Linked DNA regions of Homo sapiens: all the other regions are linked to region 1. The links are contacts of gene promoters, found by promoter capture Hi-C in blood cells and fetal thymus (Javierre and others, 2016). All regions are on one chromosome and are shown on one strand. Each heading gives the region's core, a stretch centred on a gene start or on the middle of the fragment in contact. The rest is flanking DNA. Distances are from core to core; before and after follow the strand shown. Region 1 holds the start of CDK5RAP2 (CDK5 regulatory subunit associated protein 2). Region 2 overlaps RC3H2 (ring finger and CCCH-type domains 2). Region 3 has its middle 7.5 kb from the start of TLR4. Region 4 overlaps TLR4 (toll like receptor 4).

Region 1 (3,075 bases), core at 157-2,656:
TTCACCATGTTGCCCAGGCTGATCTCACACTCCTGAGCTCAAGAAATCGGCCCACCTCGGCCTCCCCAAGGGCTAGGATTACACAGGTGAGCCACCGCACCTGGCTCTTTTCACTCTTAAGTGTCCCAGTTAGCACAATAAATAACATGGTCACCCTTTCAATTAGGATCTGTTGACTAAAAGCAGCAGCTTGTCCATAGTAGAGCTGGATAAACAGTGCAGGTTCTCCGTCAGGGCTCTCCTCCTCTTCCCTCTACTCACTCTCCAACCAGGAGTCTAGGACAACCACAGGGGCCAGCCGTGGAGCAGAGTTGCGCTCTGTTAGGCCTTCCTACCAGACCCCAGCTCCACCAGCAATGGGGACTCCCACAGTCTCTTGGGGCAGGTCCATGGGAGGCCACTCTTGGCCATTATTCCCTGATTCATATCACCTTTGATGACAGTAGTAATAATGACACTAATGGCAACACAAGATCATTTTTTAAGCACTGATTATGTGGCAGGCACTACACCTGCCAAGCAAATGGCTCGACAGGCATCACCTCTTTTAATCCTCACCCCAACTCTGTTGGGTGGATATTACTAGCCCATTTTACAGATGGGAAAGCCGGTGAAATCACTTTACCAAGGTCACACAGCTAGTCAGTTTACAGGGCTGGATTTGAATCCAGTTTTGTCCAACTCTAGCCAAGGTTCTTAATCATTGCACTCCATTGCCTCCTGGGTGGCCACTATGTGACCCAAAAAGCAAAGTCTGGGCATACCGGCTACACTCTCTCCATAATGAAAACAAACTCTCAAACCAGAAGGAACCATCAGGTGCCCTCAAGGTCCCTGTTCTCCACCAATCCCCACTAACGGGATACTCCAAGTGGCCCCACCCTCGTCCTACTCTTTCAGAAAACTCCTTACCTGTTCTTCACACGCTCTACAAAGTACATGGCGCAATGCTACTGGCAATTGTGGTGCAGGTCGCGGCTCCCAGCCCTCCAGAGTGTCAGGTGGTGGGCCCCCCAGAGACCCTCTCCGAAGGAACCCACCCCACACACTGCCCCTGGCCAGACACCCTCAAGAGCAAACCCCAAGGCCGCGTTAGAACGAAATCCCACCAGCTGGAACCCCGGCCCGGTTACCACGACCACCAATGCCCCGGCCGCACCTGCAGCCGCTGAGCGTCCCAGGGACGGTGACGTCCTCTTCCAACACCAAGTCCATCATGGCTACAGAGGTGGCGACAGCGTTGGTGTCTGTGGCGGCGGCGCCACTAGTACCCCCCGCGATAGCGACCCGCCGGGCTCCCCAGGTCCCCGCCCCCTCCACCCCAGCTCTTGTTCAGACTCTGGCGGCGCCGCTGGAATTCAAACCACAGACGCCGCCATCTTTCCCGGCGCTTCTTCCTACGGAAACGAGGCGGGGTCACGGAGGCGCACGCAGTGAAGCCGACCGGCTGGCGCCAGAGGACGGGCAGGGAAGCGGGGATAGGTGCCATCTTAACTAAGGGCAAAGCATCCGTGCTTAAGCCAAGCAAAAATAAGAGACAAAAAAAGGCCGGCTGCCATTTTTTGTGAGGGCACTTAGGGAGAGGCGAGGGCGGGTGCCATCTTTGTTGAGGGCCAAAGCGGGCCCTAGTCCGTTAATTTACGCGGGAGATGGAAATGAATACAGCCACTCAGGAATCCTCAAAGTTCCTAACCTCGTGTTTGCTTTTCTAGAATAATGACCCCAAAACTTTGGGATTTGACCTTAAGTTGAAACTCAGATAACTGAGTGCTGCCTTGCTTTGGAAAAATACTACGTGCGGAATCTCAAGGCAAACAGTAATTTGCAGACTTAGTTTGAAGCAAATAACTCATTCCCATGAGCCAGTGGTCAACAGCACTCCCACTCCAGTCTCTCACCTATTGGTCTTTTATTACCATTAGGACTCAAAGGCACCTGTGGTCAGAAAACTGAGGGCCAGCAAGAGGAAAGGACTCTCCCAAAGTAATTAAGTATTGACAATGTCTTTCAACTGGAGTGGGGGTCTGCAGCTCCTGCCAACTAGATGAGGGCTCTCTGCATAACCCTGGCTGCCTTTCTTTTTTTTTTTTTTTGAAATGGTGCCTCTGTCGCCAGGCTGGAGTGCAGTGGCCCGATCTCAGCTCACTGCAACCTTCACCTTCTGGGTTTAAGCGATTCTTCTGCCTCGGCCTTGCGCCACCACACCCGGGTAATTTTTGTATGTTTAGTAGAGACGGGGTTTCACCATGTTGGCCAGGATGGTCTCAATCTCCTGACCTCGTGATCTGCCCACCCCGGCCTTCCAAACTGCTGGGATTACAGGCGTGAGCCACAGCACCGGCCCCTTGGCTGCCTTTCTTAAAGCACATAGCAATCACCAAACACTTAGATAATCTTGGCAGAGCTTAAGCAATGAAATTAACCTTCCCCTCCTCAACTCAGTGTTGCTCCTTCCTCTGCAGGCCCTTGTGAGAGAGCCCGATGAAAATAACTTGAAATGGTTGGTGAGTGGATAGATAGTGACTTTCCCAGTAATCTTGAACAATTCCCCTTTCACCCTGTTTCCTCATTCTTTTTTTTTTTTTTTTAAATAGAGACAGGGTCTCACTATGTTGCCCAGGCTGGTCTTGAACTCCTGGCCTCAAGCAATCCTCCCACCTTGGCCTCCCAAAGTGCTGGGGTTATAGGCCTGAGCCACTGCACCAGGCCCTCATTCTTCAGTTAAGTAATTAACCAATTATTGATACTTTTCAAAAGAAGCCTTCCCTAGTCATTTAATCTAAATCAAGCCACTTCTTGTATTCCTAGCAATGCAAATTATTCCTTTGTGGCACTTACCATATTTTGCAATTTGTGTGTGTGTGTGTGTGTGTAAAATCATTTTTTAAATGTCTTTCCTTGCACTAGACTGGAAGCTGCATGGGGCAGGGACTATATTCTGAATTGTTCACTGCTATATCCTCAACACCTAGCACTATGTCTGCCACTCAGCAGCTATTTGAAAATGTATGTTAAATGAATGAGTGATTCAATCAATCAGTCTGGAAATAAGGCCAATACCTATCCTGCAAGGTT
Region 2 (2,895 bases), core at 164-2,663, 2.3 Mb after region 1:
GTCTCGAACTCCTGACCTCAGGTGATCCACCCGCCTCAGCCTTCCAAAGTGCTGGGATTACAGGCGTGAGCCACCGCGCCCAGCCAACTTTCTATTTTAACAAGTATAACTAATATTAGTGATGACGAGAAAAATACTTTCTTTGAGATAGAACTTACTTCTGCCTATCAAATCATAGCCAATGGATAACTTCATCCTTCATATTACCAAAGTCCTTAGCTCTTTAATTATTCTGATTGTAACAGGATAATCTATCTGGAAGTTTTGGGTTTTTATACATCTACTTTTATTCCACTAACATATTTCTTGGAAGAGTAATGCTGATCTACAACAGTAATATCCGATAGAAATATGTGAGCCATTATAATCCGAGTAATTTTTAATTTTCTGGTAGTCACATTAAAAAAGGTTAAAAGAGGCTAGGCGTGGTGGCTCACGCCTGTAATCCCAGCACTTTGGGAGGCGGAGGCGGGAGGTGGGTGGATCACTTGAGGTCATGAGTTCCAGACCAGCCTGGTCAACATGGCAAAACCCCATCTCTACTAAAAATACAAAAATTAGCCTGGTGTAGTGGTGCCTTCCTGTAATCCCAACTACTCAGGAGTCTGAGGCATGAGAATTGCTTGAACCTGGAAGCAGAGGTTGCAGTGAACCCGAATGGTGCCACTGCACTCCAGCATGGGTGATAGAGAGAGACTGTCTCAAAAAAAAAAAAAAAAAAGTTAAAATAGCTAAAATTATTTTTAGTAATATATTTTATTTATCCCAGTTTATACAAAATATCATTTCAACATGTTGTCAATATTAAAATTACTGAGATATTAAAAAAAATCTTGGTACTAAGTCTTTGAAATCTGGTATTTTACACCTAAAGCACATCTCAATTCACAGAAGCCACATTTCAAATCTTCAACTGTCACATGTGGCCACTGGCTAGTACTGGACAGTGCAACTCTAGAATATTTAAATTATAAAGTAATACTTAGAACTTTTATCAGGAAATTGAGGTAAAACTCACACTTACACTTAAAGCTTTAGTAAAATTAGAGACGCTGATCATAACATTCATGAGACTGGATGCAAAACATGAACTTATTTTTAATTTTCAGCTAGCTTTATTTTACCCATGCTTCCTTTTTCCATCACTAAAAAGTGAAACTTCAACACGGTACAAACTAAACAGTAAGTAGTTACTAAAACCTTGTTATGAAGTTTTTTTTAGCGTTCTTAGCTATTGCAAACAATGTAGAAGTTCAACTTTTGAATATAAAATCCTGAGTGTAAAGAAGAATGCTTTGCCAAAATGCAAATTTTTGGTTTTTTCAAAGTGGAAGACAGCAAATTACAAAAGCAGAGTATGATTTAACAAAAATATATGAACAAAGGACGTAAGTCTTCTTACATGTCAGGTTACCACAACAGAAATAACAGATCAGGGGTAACTCAAAGGATCCACTAATGAACACGAGTGTAATTAAATCCTCATAGAACAAGTGCCTGTTTGAATTATAACATCTGCTTTTTCTAAACGTAACTAGAATATGTTTCACATTCTGTCCTCCTAGCAATTTTCCAAACTCTAAAATTTTGAAAACATTAATCTCCAAATCAACGAAAATGTCAATATTGAAAAGCAGTCTTTAACAGGATGTAACGACCTCTATTTCTTCAAAAATTGAACGTGGAAGTAAACAACGTAAGAAAGGCATGTGAAGCTACAACAGTGGTATAGCTTTTTAGACAGCTAAAAGGTTTTTTAAAAAGGAGAATCTATTAATATTCTTAATATCGTAAAAAGCTTTTAACTAAGTTTGTATGTTTAACCATTAAAAGGCTGCACTGGCTAACATTTGTTTCTTTGCTTTTGAGTGACTTTATACCACTGTGGTATAGCAACGTTAGCTTTCTCAGGTTAACCAAAAGTTCCTACTGGAACTTAAAAGTTTGGCCAATACAAAATTGGAAAAAAGATTACTTAAAGCACTTTATTTGGGATACAAACTCACCCACCCACAATGGGTAGGGGGAGAGTAGAAATGAAAAAAAGGAAGGCCGTGGGTAAGGGGAGAGGAGGAATTAAAAAGGGAACCCAAGGGTTATGAAAATATAAATAAATCACTGGATTAGATTTACTTTATGCCAGTGATTACTTGAGTCAATTTTGGTGTGAAGGATTTATCTGCCGGTATCTTAAACGGCTGCCTTGGGATTTGAAGGATGGAAATGACAGCTACCCTCATCTTCTCCCATCCTGAAAGCTAAGGATAGAAAAAAGTACAGCTGCTTCTCTGGGAAACAAAGATGCTTTCTACCATTCTTCTAAGATGGTGGAAGAGTCTCCTCAAGAGGCTACACCAAAAAGGAAAAATGAGAGAGGGAAAGAAGAAAGCCATAGCAGAATTTCCTGGCTGTGTTTCATGCCATTGCTCCTAGCCACAACCCCTGTGCAACCACTCAGGTCCGGCCGTCCCCATCCTGGGAGGTTAAGCCCTCCCAGGGCATTGTTTGGCCGGGGTTCCTATTTACCACTCAGATCGCCTCCACCACCCTCTACGCTAGGGTCTCGGGAAGCCCCAGGGCAGAAAGCTGAAAAGCTAGGAGAAGACTTGGTTTCGAGGACCTCTTCCAAACCCCCTTACTAACTGGTGTAGAAAAGGGAGAGTGAAGCCGGGCCTTTGCTTGGGTGGGTTCGTTAGGGGTCAGAGGCGTCCGCTCGGCCAGTGTCGAAGGAAGGTGGCCATTTGAGCCGGTCGCTCCGCATCGAAAAAGCCCTACCAGAGAGAGGGGCCTCCGCAGGGCCCGGGTTCCATCCGAGTGTCAGGTGCGGCCCTCAGTTCCCAACCCTCGAGGCACCAGGGGCGACAGCGCACAGGCCCCAGGGCTGAGACTGGTCTC
Region 3 (3,161 bases), core at 338-2,837, 2.9 Mb before region 1:
TTTATGGAAGCATTCACTGGACATTTAGTCTGAGCTCTAGAGGAGCTAAAGGAAAAAGATATGGTTGCTTTGGCATAAATCAAAAGGGCAGAGTCAAAATTGAAGCATATTTATGTTTAGTACTCTCAACATACTTTTATGTTACCCTGAATGCAATTCCTTCCCATAATGTCACATCTAACCTTTTATTTTTTATCTTTATCTCTGTATCTTCCTTCTCACTAGAGCTCCAACCTTCTAATACCAAGGCACTAGGAGGGTTTTTTCTTTTTCTTTTTTTAAAATTTAAATGTTGACTCAAAGAAAGAGAGGAGGCAGGTACTCATACAGCATAAAATACAAAAATTTTGGTGGAAGAGTTTCACCTTCAGTAAGCACCCCATCTTTTAGTTTACTTTAATTTTTCTGCTCACCTGGTGGTCATTCTACCAAGGCAGCCTCTTAACATCATCCACTACTCCTTAGAATTTGTAGATTCTTTGTCTTTCTACCCATTAACAACACCAAGCCAAGCAGAGAATAACTAACAACTCATGTTGAAGTTTGTGGCTAATAGAATGCCTATACTTCAGAAGGAAAAGAAGAGTTAAGGATCAAAAGTCTGTCGGGGTGGGAGACAGCAAGTAAGGAGCAGAGTCTGAGAGGAACACAATTCTGTAGCAGAAGAAGTAGCTCACATGAGGTCTCTCACAAAAGCTAAGGATAAAGCTGAGGACATCCCGAGGATCAATGAAAAAAAAGTTAATTTTATTAGGGATGTTGCTGTGAATCCTGCACCATTCTTTGGACTATGTATAGATTGGAATATATCTTTTGAACCTCAAGGAAATTGCACACTAGATACTTTTCTGTGCTCCATGTGTATTTGCCCAACTTGCATATTTGTCCATCATTTCCCAGTCCGATTACTTCCAGATTCATAGACTTCTCCAGAATGGAAGGTAGAAGAAAAGAAGAGTAATTGTAGAATAAACCAGCTACTTGACAAGTAATGTAAGTTACTCATGCCCTGACCCCATTCCTTCCAAAAACACATGTCATACACCTCTGGGTTACGCAAGCATGTGCTGTCCACAGTGATGTGTTATAAGGTGACTTGCAAGTCTAGCCTAGGATTGTGTCAGATACCAGCTCAAAGTATTTCATCACAGGTTGTCTTCTAGAAAAAGACAGAATAAATTCCTTTTAGATTTTTCCTTCTTTTTCTCAGTGGAAGTTGCTAAAAAGAGGAGAAATGTGATTGACCAGTCATCAAAAAAAATGGCTGATTACATATAATCTACTAATTCCTGCATTCATTTAATGTTAATTGAGCACTTATCATGTACTGATAACAAACAAACACTAGCTACAACTCTGAATGTAACAGATCCAATCTGTCCTCACTTGGATCTTATTAGCCTGTATATGAAATAAGACCCAAGTCAATTGAGACTATTACCAGGAGTTATCTTCACAATCACTGATACAACTAACATGCATTAAACTTCTCCTAGGTATTACTGGGCACTGTGATAGGCATAGGGTGTACAGAGATGCACTAGATTTGGCTTCTGTCATAAGGGGGCTAAAAGCCTAGTGGGAAAGAAAGATAATCCCTCTTGAACATGAGAGATGGTTGCTGTGGGAGGACTGAAGAAAAGGTGACAAATGCCTACTTGGAGACGTTGGGCATGTATCACTAAGATGCAAAGTCTTAACAATGTCCTACAATGCCCTAAGTAATCTACCTGGCAACGTGTGCCTCTCTACACTGGTTGGTTCTAGCACTTCCTGTCTCTGGATCTTTGGACTGGCTTATCCTTCTAACTCAGGGCTTCTCAACCTTGGCACTACTGATATTTTAGGCTGGGGGACTGTCCTGGATCTAGCACATAGTGAGATGTTTAGCAGCATCCCTGGCCTCTACTCAGTGGATACCAGCAGCAACACCTCCAACCCCCAAGTTACGACAAACACAAATGTCTCAAGAGATTGCAACATGCCCCCTGGGGCAAAATCATTTCCAGTTGAGAACTACTATTCTAACTGGGGTGTTTCTCTCCAAAGTATCTGCATAGCCAGGGACTCCTTCCAGAATTGGCTCAAAATATCACTTTCTCAAAAAGACCCACACTGATTGTCCTATATTTGATAGCACAATAGGATGACTAAAGTCAATAATAGCTCAATTGTACATGTTGAAATAATTTGAGTGTAACTAGATTGTTTGTAACTCAGACAATAGGACTTGAGGGGATAGATACCCCATTGTTCATGATGTGTTTATTTCACATTGAATGCCTGTATCAAACATCTCATATACCCCATAAGTATATACACCTACTATGAACCCACATAAATAAAGAGATAAATAAATAAATAGAGAGAAAATAAATACATAAATAAATAAAACTCCAATACCACACACCACTCTTCATTCCCCTCACTCTCTTAAATTTTTGTCTATAGATCCTAACATCTTCGGACCTACTATATAATGCACTTATTTATAATTATTATCATCTCTCTACTAATTAGAATATACATTCAACTTGAGTGAGAGGGACTGCTTTCTTCACTGTTGTAGTCTTCTGCCCAGAACAGTGCCTGGCAAAATGTTAACCATCCATACATATTTGGTGTATAAATAAATGAATGAATTATGGTCAACATTTGTGTAAAGTTGTAACATTTACAAATACATCCACACACAAGATCTCATTTACCCCTCAGATAATATTATTAATTAGGCCATAGTGTTATTTTTGTTGTATGGTTTAAGGAAACTCAATGATGTTAAAAATTAGTGACACCCACAAAAAATGATGATGCCAGAAAGTAAAAAGGATAATGAAATATTTTAAAGTATAGCCTTCAGATTTGGTTTGGCTGTGCCCCAACCCAAATCTCATCTTGAATTGTAGTTGCCATAATCGCCACGTATATCGTGGGAGGGACCTGGTGGGAGGTAATTGAATCATGGGGGCAGTTACCCCCATGCTGCTGTTCTCATTATTGTGAGTGAGTTCTCATGAGATCTGATGGTTTTATAAGTGCCAGGCATTTCCTCTGCTTGCACCTCTCCTTCCTGCTACCATGTGAAGAAGGACATGTCTGCTTCCCCTTCCACCATGATTGTAAGTTTCCTGAGGCCTCCCCAGCCTTGCAGAACAGTGAGT
Region 4 (3,149 bases), core at 379-2,878, 2.9 Mb before region 1:
AGAAAATATTTACACTCCCATGTTCATTGTGGCACTCTTCACAATCACTGTTTCCAAAGTTATGGAAACAACCCAAATTTCCATTGAAAAATAAATGGACAAAGAAAATGTGCATATACGTACAATGGGATATTATTCAGCCTAAAAAAAGGGGGAATCCTGTTATTTATGACAACATGAATAAACCCGGAGGCCATTATGCTATGTAAAATGAGCAAGTAACAGAAAGACAAATACTGCCTGATTTCATTTATATGAGGTTCTAAAATAGTCAAACTCATAGAAGCAGAGAATAGAACAGTGGTTCCTAGGGAAAAGGAGGAAGGGAGAAATGAGGAAATAGGGAGTTGTCTAATTGGTATAAAATTATAGTATGCAAGATGAATTAGCTCTAAAGATCAGCTGTATAGCAGAGTTCGTATAATGAACAATACTGTATTATGCACTTAACATTTTGTTAAGAGGGTACCTCTCATGTTAAGTGTTCTTACCATATACATATACACAAGGAAGCTTTTGGAGGTGATGGATATATTTATTACCTTGATTGTGGTGATGGTTTGACAGGTATGTGACTATGTCTAAACTCATCAAATTGTATACATTAAATATATGCAGTTTTATAATATCAATTATGTCTGAATGAAGCTATAAAAAAGAAAAGACAACAAAATTCAGTTGTCAAAACTGGAAATATGACCACAGTCAGAAGTGTTTGTTACTGAGTGTTTCAGAGTGTGTTTGGTTTGAGCAGGTCTAGGGTGATTGAACATCCCTGGGTGTGTTTCCATGTCTCATGTACTAGTGAAAGTAGATGTGTGCATTTGTGCACATATCCCTATGTATCCCTATCAGGGCTGTGTGTATTTGAAAGTGTGTGTGTCCGCATGATCATATCTGTATAGAAGAGAGTGTGATTATATTTCTTGAAGAATACATCCATTTGAAATGGATGTCTATGGCTGTTTGAGATGAGTTCTCTACTCTTGTGCTTGTACAGTAGTCTCCCCTTATCCCTTATGCTTGGTGGATACGTTCTTAGACCCCAAGTGGATCTCTGAGACCGCAGATGGTACCAAACCTCATATATGCAATATTTTTTCCTATACATAAATACCTAAGATAAAGTTCATCTTCTGAATTAGGCACAGTAAGAGATTAACAATAACTAACAATAAAATTGAATAGTTATAATAATATATTGTAATAAAAGTTATGTGAATGTGATCTCTTTCTTTCTCTCTCTCAAAATATCTTACTGTACTGTACTCACCTATTTTCAGACCATAACTGACCATGAAACCTGGGAAAGTGAAACTGTGGATAAGTGAGGAACTAACATACATACATGATTGTTTATCTACAGATGTATGCCTCAGTTTCTTAGTATGCTTGAAAATGTATGATTTTGTGTATATCCGTGCTACATGTAAGTGTGGTTCTATTCATATTTGAATATGAATTCTGCATAAGTGTGTTTATTCAAGCAAATGTACAAGGCTCTGAGAAGGAAGATCAACATACAACTTGGAATATTTCAAGGCCGAAATATTCAAGGCTGACATTGGCCTCCTTCCTATCAGTTCCCTCTCCCAGATGGAAATTCTAGAAATGGCAGGTGAGGTGGACAAGCAGGGAAAGAAATTATATGCATAGAACAGAAGGAGAAGAAAGAGTAAAGTCAGGCCTCAGCCAGCCTCTTTTTAGCTCTTTAAATCCTCTGGATTTAAGAGGGATAAAGGGTGGAATAAGGATAAATTAATGCCAATTGTAATGCCTTAAATTTGTGTGATACCTTACAACTTGAAACATATTCACAAAACTATATATTTGAATATCTCATTAGCTGAGTAAGGTAGCAAATCATAATTAACTTTTTCCATTTTATTGATGGGAAAGCTGAAGTTCAATGAAGTAAATTTTTCAATAGCCCACAGAGTAGGAAAGTGACAAAACCTGAGCCTGGGCCTCCAGGTCACTCAAGGACACTTTCTTTCTTCCACACCCAATTGCTTCATGCTTAAAGTTGGCAAAACAGGAAGTGAAACTCCTGCAGTTTTCTGTGTGGTTGACACTAGCAAGGGTTTCTCAGTTGAAGCCATGAATCATTAAGCCAATACATATGCATATATGTTATACATACCAAATGATTTATTTATAACCCTATCTTTCCATAAAGGACTTGAAGGAGCTTCAAACAAAGGATATGTGAACAATAGGGTTAATCAATAATAAGTAGAAAATCTGGACATAGAATAAAAAGAGGAGAGAAAGACACCGAGAATGAGCGTTAATACAGTGCTTTCCATTTTTCTGGTGTTTTGAGTAGCGTGGCTTTTGGAGAAAGCCAAAACTCAAATTCACTCCTTATCAACTGTGTGCCTTGGGCTCCATTTCTCTGAGAGTCTACTTAGCTCCAATGTAAAATAAGAATAGAACTATGACTTTGTAAGGTTGCTCTAAGGATTGAAAATCATGTATTATGTTCAATACGGGGACACTGTCCTTATGGGTGAGTACTCCCCTAAGACTTTATTAAGAGGGCACTAGGAGAAGCACTGGGAGGTCTTCTCAGTAACAACACTAAAGTAATTGCTATTTTTCCAGCCTGTGGAACCACAGAAGTGACTGTAACTAAAATTAGACATTTCTTTCTGATTCATTCTCTACTCACGGGATTGTCAGACCCCAGTCTTCTTCTGGACTCTATAAACTTTTTAGAAATCATCAGCAGGCTCCTGGAGAAGCTTAAATGAACTCACACAATATGTGACAGTGAACTCCCTGGGAGAGTGAAAACCAAAGTCTAAGCCAGTGTCTCCATTTACTTGTGTGATTGTGGGCAAGTCATTCAAGTGCTTTGAGGCTCAGGTCTTAATTCATGAAATGGAGGTAATAATACCTTGTTGGCAGACCTCACTTGGTTAAAATGATAATGTTGATAGTTACAATAGTTACATTTAATTGATCAATTGTTTTATGCAAGGGCTTTATTTGTGCTATCTCAGTTTGTCACATCAATGAATTAGAAAGATACGAAAGTATTTCCAATTTACAAATGAGGAGTCTGAGTCTGGGAGTCATTCTGTCATGTGTCCACTGTCACCTGCTCATTGGTGGCAGCACTGAGATTAGGATCTAAGTCCACT

The links. Contacts are between HindIII fragments. The CHiCAGO score rates a contact against its expected background, and 5 or more counts as called.
Region 2: a fragment that was not itself captured here is called in contact with the fragment with the promoter of CDK5RAP2 in region 1 in 2 of 17 cell types (fetal thymus and total CD4 T cells); the score reaches 5.8 in fetal thymus.
Region 3: a contact is called between a fragment that was not itself captured here and the fragment with the promoter of CDK5RAP2 in region 1, in 2 of 17 cell types (M0 macrophages and M2 macrophages). The highest score is 6.1, in M0 macrophages.
Region 4: a contact is called between a fragment that was not itself captured here and the fragment with the promoter of CDK5RAP2 in region 1, in 3 of 17 cell types (M1 macrophages, M0 macrophages and total B cells). The highest score is 9.8, in M1 macrophages.

Annotation. Positions count from the first base shown.
Region 1 is chr9:120,578,761-120,581,835 of GRCh38, forward strand. It overlaps CDK5RAP2 (CDK5 regulatory subunit associated protein 2), which reads right to left and starts at 1,407. Exons shown (of 38, transcript NM_018249.6): 1 at 1,160-1,407. The coding sequence starts at 1,218. RefSeq lists enhancers at 1,079-1,641, 1,495-1,624. The HindIII fragment of the contact is 6,111 bases long and covers 1-3,075 here.
Region 2 is chr9:122,902,146-122,905,040 of GRCh38, forward strand. The region is part of intron 1 of RC3H2 (ring finger and CCCH-type domains 2); the gene reads right to left. Among named protein-coding and RNA genes, the nearest start is that of RC3H2, 1.8 kb to the right of the region's middle. RefSeq lists a silencer at 2,669-2,895. The HindIII fragment of the contact is 766 bases long and covers 1,031-1,796 here.
Region 3 is chr9:117,695,274-117,698,434 of GRCh38, forward strand. No RefSeq gene overlaps it. Among named protein-coding and RNA genes, the nearest start is that of TLR4, 7.5 kb to the right of the region's middle. The HindIII fragment of the contact is 3,453 bases long and covers 1-3,161 here.
Region 4 is chr9:117,716,240-117,719,388 of GRCh38, forward strand. It overlaps TLR4 (toll like receptor 4), which reads left to right. Exons shown (of 3, transcript NM_138554.5): 3 at 1-3,149. Among named protein-coding and RNA genes, the nearest start is that of TLR4, 13 kb to the left of the region's middle. The HindIII fragment of the contact is 2,234 bases long and covers 512-2,745 here.